2 separate regions of the Homo sapiens genome follow, and region 1 is linked to region 2. Evidence: promoter capture Hi-C in 16 types of primary human blood cells and fetal thymus (Javierre and others, 2016). All regions are on one chromosome and are shown on one strand. The core of a region is centred on a gene start or on the middle of the fragment in contact, and the rest is flanking DNA. Distances in the headings are between cores, read along the strand shown.

Region 1 (3,092 bases), core at 168-2,667, 360 kb after region 2:
CCTTTGCTGCCATCTTCTGGAACTTGATTATTAACGTATACTCTGGGCTTCCCAGAAGAGACAAAAGAATAATTACATCCTTACATGAGCACAATGCTGACGCCAAATTAGCTGTATGCACGTGCTAAATCATTTCTTTTATTCTCATTAACCTACAGTCGGGCTCTGGACTTCCCTTGAGAATCCTGAATGGGATTATTTTTTTACAAAGAAATTCCCACTAAGTAATGCCTGGGCTTTCTTCAGTGCTGGATTTTAATTCCACAAAAACTCATAATCTTACAAATGCATATAATGATAACAGATAAAATAGAACAATTTGAATAAAGAGTAACGTGTAAATAAGTGATTAAAAAAACTTGAAACTATGTTTACCCTCCCCCCCCCTTTTTTTCAAACATTAGTTTGGGGCCCTTTATTTAGGAAATCTTAATCAGAAATCCAACATACAAACAAAGAGAACTGGGCATCCACTTGTATCCTTCTTCAAAAAAGTGCCTAAAAGTATATTTGCATTCGTGTGTGAAACTAGATTTGTCTTAAAGGGATCATGTACAAAGCAGGAAGGAGCCAAGCAATTCCAGAAAGGTGGATGAACAGAGGAGCTACACATGGGAGAAATGATGCAAAAAGACAGTGTGTGCTAATCGATCAGGAAAGAAGGAAAGCACTGGGTTAATTTCTTACATAACAATAATGTGGTTTTATATATGTGAGATGCCATTAAAAGTAAAGATTCCTTAAAACTTCAGTGATACAATAGAGGCTATATAATCAATCTTGTCTGGGACATTTCCAGGAAAAAGCAATGTTCTTTCAAACCTATCTGGGTCTTAAGATGTGACTGTACTGTGCGCTTTCCCTTCACCACTCACGTCTGGAAAGATAATGAACTCCCTCAGCCCCACTTCCTTATCTCCCATTCACTTGCAGACTTAATCAGTCATGCTTCAGCTTTCTTCTCTCCCAGTTGAAGCTGGTGAATGTTTAACTCTTGGGATGGGGAAGGATGTGAGAAGGGAACACCCTGATTTGTAGCATTGTAGCATTTGCTGATTTCAAGTAATTCCACCATCACTGATCTAAAGCTGATGTCATTGAATGCAGAGCTGGGCTTGGATGTGCACAAGAGACTCTCCTGAGTAGGTATGAGCTCCAGTGCACAAGGGCCTCTGCTGAGTAGGTGTGAGATCCAGCACACCTCTCTCTAATCCCTCTATTGAAACTGCTCTTACCTAGGCATGGTACAGATCCCAGTGACCTCCTAAGGAAAAATCTAGTTTGCTTCTCTACTTGACTAACAGGCAGCATGAGCCACTCCCTTATTGGTGAGCCATTCTCCTCTTTGGTTCTCTTCCTATTTCCCTGGCAATTTCTTGCCTTTCTGTGCTACGTACAACCTCTGCCCATAACTTGATAGATGCTTCCTAGGGTCCTATCCTCTGCTCCCTTCTGTATTCACTCCCCTTATAATCTCAGCCCCTCAACCACTCCCATATATCACAGGCACCTCCAACTCAGGGAGTCCCAGTCTGACATCATGCTGTCCCCTCTTCCTTTTTTACCTGCACCCGGCACACACTTCAATCGTACTATTTACCATAGTTTAAAAATGTATCTATTCCTCTCTATATTCACTGATATTGCCTAATTTCATCTGCATGTCATATCTCTCCTGAGCAAATGCCACAGCTTTTTGGGTGATTTTTTTTTGTCTACCCTCCTTTCAAATTCTTCTCCCCACAACCACCATTCATCTTCCAACTCAACTGTCAAAATTACACTTCTTTGGCACAGTCTAATTACATTTCCTGCTTTCTCCCATTTTTTCTCTAGGTTAAAATATTAATTGCACAGGCCATAATCAATCCTGCTTCCCTGCCATGTGTAGGAGGCACCAACAGAAATACAACTTATTAACATAAAGTTGTATGTTTTTCCCATTCTGAGCACCAGAATCTTGACTGAAAAAGTCAGGTATATGAAAATATAGTGTAGGGGTTATATGAATATCTGATTGCTGCCATAGTCATTTACTGTCTTACAACACCATCTCCAGACAGTTCTAGAGACCACAAGTCTGAAATGCATGAGCAGGGATGCACTCCTTCTAGAGGCTTTAGGGGAGAATCCGTTCCCTGCTCCTTCCTAGCTTCTAAGGGCCATGACCCTGCATCACCCCAACTTCTGCTTCCATCGTGGTCACACCTCCTCTCTGATTCTTACCCTCTTGTACTCCAATTGTATGGACCCCTGTGACTACACTGGGCCCACTCTGATAATCCATAATCTCCCCATTTTGAGATCTTTAATTTAATCACACCTGCAAAGTCTCTTTTGAAATGCAAGTTAACACATTCACAGGTTCTGGGAATTAGAACATGGACTTTTCTGAGAGTTAACTACAGGGGTTAGTTAAGAACGCTGGCTCTGGGTCCAATCCTGGTTCAATTAATTAAAAGCTACTTGCCTGGATTTGAGTGATCTGTCAGCCACAAGTTTACAGAACTGCCCCTTAGAGGTGGAGAAACTTTTTTTTTTGTTTTTAAGAGACAGAGTCTGGCTCTGTTGCCCAGGTTGCAGTGCAGGGGTGCAATCAAAGCTCACTGCAGCCTCAGACTCCTGGGCTCAAGCAATCCTCCTGCCTCAGCCTCCAAAGTAGCTAGAACTACAGATGCATGCCACCACATCTGACTAATTTGTAAATTTTTTGTGGCAACGATGTCTTGCTATGTAGCTTAGACTGGTCTCAAACTCCTGGCCTTGGCCTCACCCTCCCAAAAATGCCAGGATTACAGACACGAACCATGGCAACTGGCCAAAATAAGGATTCTTAAATAATCCCTTCATTCATCCTTTTAACACTCAGTAAGCATTCATTAAGTGCCGTTTACATGGCAGGCCCTATTCTAGGCTCTGGAAAAGAGTAGTGAACTAAATAAAGCTTCTTACCCTTAGAGAATTTATATTGTGGTGAGAGAAAACAGACAAATAGATAAACAGAATGCACAGTGTATCAAGTGCTATCAAGTGGCATGTCATTGAAGAGAAGGGAGACAGGGAATATGGCCTTTACAACTTTGAATGGAGCT
Region 2 (3,233 bases), core at 82-2,581:
TTCACTGTTGCTCAAGAAATAATCTCCCGCGTGTTTCAGCATACCAAAAAGGCCTAACTTACGCCAGGTGTGTAAATCATAAAGGAGCCAAAGTCTTCCGTTTGTTTCTAAGGCCTCCGGGCGCAGGAACCTCGCGGAGGCCCGTGTGGTCCCTCGGGGCTCTGCACGCGTGGGAGCTGCCCGGCCTGCTGAGCCTGGGAGCGCCGGCAGCGCGTTCCCACGCTCAGGCCGGGTCGGGAAGCCGTGGTGACCCCTAGGGGCTCCTTTCCGCGGTTCTCGCCCTCGCAGCCCCGCCCCAGCCGCCCCTCCCCTCCTGGTTCCAGTCCCGGAGCGTGGGAGCGCAGCTGCAGCGAGCCGGGAGCGAGGCGCGGAGGCACCTCCAAGGATGCGCGCCCGCGACCCGGCCAGCAGGCTGAGGACCAGGCGAGGCGCGGGGGGCCTCCCACACTGGGCGCCGACCTGGGCCACAGCCAGGGTAGCCGGCCACTTACTTGATGTCTTCCCACACCTCGGGGCCGTAATTGCGGATCACCAGCAACTCCAGGGCGTGATTCACAAATCCGTACTGCGGGGACAGGGAGAGACTTGAGCGTCAGGGACCCGCTGTACCTGAGAAGCGGCTTGGGGGCGAGGCTGCTGCCTCTGCTCCCATGGCGCTGGCTTAACCTTTCACCCCGCCCCTGACTCCTCTCCCTTAGGGGTACTATGCACTAAAGGAGTCGGATCGTGGGGGCGCAACCCCCCAATCCCTGGTGGATTCTCCCCGTCACCATCCGCCCCACCCCCACGCTATCTTCCCACCCTCCTCACCTGTCACCGCTCCGGGAGAGGCTGGGCATCGGGGGCAGCGCGGGGACGCGAACCCGGAGCCTTCCCTTCCGCTGGCGCTCAGCCTCCCACACTGGTGGGGCCGGCCAGAGCCGGGAAGACCCCACGCCTCCGCCGCACCTCCCCTTCCCGAGCTCAGGAAGCTGCGGTGTGGAGCGGCAAACCCGCCTGGGAAGCAAAGGCACCGATCGCCCCCGCCACGACTCGCGGCGTTCCCACCTCCCCTGACTGGGCGCGGGCAAGGAGTGAGGCTGCTCCCGTGGCCGGCAGTGAGCGCCCAGGGCCCCCGAGCCAAGCTCCGGCTGCGCGGCCAGTTCCCTCGCTGCCAGGCCGGCCGAGGAGGGGTGAGGTTCGGGCCGCACCCGGCTGAGAGCACTTACCATGGTGTCTGCACCGGGAGCCGGGGAGGCAGCCCCCACGCAGAGGTACGGCCGAAGGGACCCAGGCAGAGGCGGCAGCGGCTACAGCGCAACCGGGCCGGGGAGGCAGCATCGAGCTGGAGCGAGAACAGCCGCCTTGGCCCGCCCTGATTGCCACCTCTTCCCAGCCAATGGCGAGTCGAGCCGCAGGGGGCTGGTCGGTGCTCCCCAGTTCTTCAACCAATCAGGGACAGAGGAGGGAATTCGGATGCTCTCAATGCTGCTGCGCTCCAGTGCCTTCCCGCCCCCGCCTGGTGACAAGGCCTTCATTTGAGGCCATAACAATGACAGTGGAGAAGCCCCAGCCGTGCTCCTTGCATGAATTCTGGAGCAGAGGAAATGCAGCTCTTGTGGACCCACTAAATGTATTATTATTCAGAGATCTGCCCTCAGTGGTTAACACAAGCAAAAGGGAACAGGGCGTGTTTGTTGTGTGAGCGTGTACGTGTGTACTTTGCAATGGACAGACCTTAAAAGGAATATCCTCTGTTGCTGGCATCCTCATGCTTATCTTTGTCTAGCGGAAAAACATTTCCTCTGTGGCTTGGTCCCACAACAGTTTATGGCAAATTTAAAGCTGGTAATATTGAGAAAAACATATTTTCACTTCTAGTCAATGAGACTAGTTGAGTGAAGCACCAAAAATTTTCAGTAATGTAGTTTGGTGGACGTTATGTTAAATCCAGTCCTGCCCTTTACTAAACTGTACAAGATCCAGCGATATTCTAGGCTTGATCCCTGTGGGACACCTTTCCCTACACCATGTCCGGGAGCCATAATTCCAGGGAGTTTGTAACCCTCTAGAGCGGGCCTCTGTTGCTGTTTCTTAGCAACAGACGAACTGGAAAATGACCAGTACAAAATGCACAGACTTTAACTACTCTACCTCCAGCTTACATTCTACCAGGCCCTTAGGTTAGTTAATGCTCTGAGTCCTGCCATAGAGAGAAGATGAGAGGAACAGGAAGTGGCAGCTTATTAAAGCTGTTTGTACCTGAGGTATATGGACTCCAGTTGACTTTTAGGGCAAGGTCAAAAGTGAGGTCACCAGTCTCAAGTGGACCTGAGAAGCCAGATGGTATTTTAAGATGTGCATATTTTGTTGTGAGAACAGTCTCAATATGGTTAGAGAAAAATGTCAAAACAATAAGATTGTGCTGACATCAGCACCGAGAGAGCTATGATGAAGGAAACTGATACAGAAATAGTGGCATGTAGCAAACAAACAAAACAACAAATTACTTTAAAAATTTCCATTATTGGTGGAATGAGTAAATAGATTACAGCCTTTCATACAATCTAACACCTTGTTTTAAACAACTATTAAAACATTAATCATTATTTAACAACAATTAACCACTAATTTTGAACCATTAAAATGGCACATTAAACAACCATGAAAAAGCAGGAGGGTGACTAGAAAATGATGATGCAGAAAAGTATTGTCAGGTTTACAAAACACCACAAGAATGTAATCATTTTCCATTTTTTAGAGTTAGTATACAGTAAGGTGCTATGTGGGTAATAACACAGGCACATACATGTTGCTGTAAGAATAATGGTTTGGGAGGAAACACAGGAAGTGTTGATATGGCTATCGTCTGTAATTAGAACCAGTGGCTGGAATGGCCATGACTCTTACTTTTTATAACTTTCTGTATCTTTTGATTATTTTTCTACACAGATGAATTTTCTTTACTGTTACATAACTGAATTTTTTTTAACTTTTATTTTAGTTTCAGGGGCACATATGCAGGTTTGTTATATAGGCCAATTACATGTCTTGGGGGTTTGGTGTACAGATTACTTTGTCACCCAAGCACTAAGCATGGTACCCAACAAATAGTTTTTTGATCCTCACCCTCTTCCCACCTTCCATCCTCAAGTAGGCCCCAGTGGTCATTGTCCCCTTCTTTGTGTTCATGTGTACTCCGTGTTTAGCTCCCACTTGCAAGTGAGAACATGTGGTATTTGGTTTTCTGTTTC

Evidence for each region. The method cuts DNA at HindIII sites, captures the fragments that hold promoters and counts their contacts. A CHiCAGO score of 5 or more calls a contact.
Region 1: a contact is called between a fragment that was not itself captured here and the fragment with the promoter of GUCY1B1 in region 2, in 5 of 17 cell types (fetal thymus, M2 macrophages, M0 macrophages and 2 more). The highest score is 9.8, in fetal thymus.

Annotation. Positions count from the first base shown.
Region 1 is chr4:155,400,994-155,404,085 of GRCh38, reverse strand. No RefSeq gene overlaps it. Among named protein-coding and RNA genes, the nearest start is that of MAP9, 26 kb to the right of the region's middle. The HindIII fragment of the contact is 3,059 bases long and covers 1-2,946 here.
Region 2 is chr4:155,757,119-155,760,351 of GRCh38, reverse strand. GUCY1B1 (guanylate cyclase 1 soluble subunit beta 1) reads right to left here and starts at 1,331. Exons shown (of 14, transcript NM_000857.5): 1 at 1,209-1,331; 2 at 492-565. The coding sequence starts at 1,211. It overlaps LOC105377506 (a long non-coding RNA gene), which reads left to right and starts at 1,937. Exons shown (of 8, transcript XR_007058484.1): 1 at 1,937-2,162. RefSeq lists silencers at 284-553, 1,004-1,153. The HindIII fragment of the contact is 7,462 bases long and covers 1-3,233 here.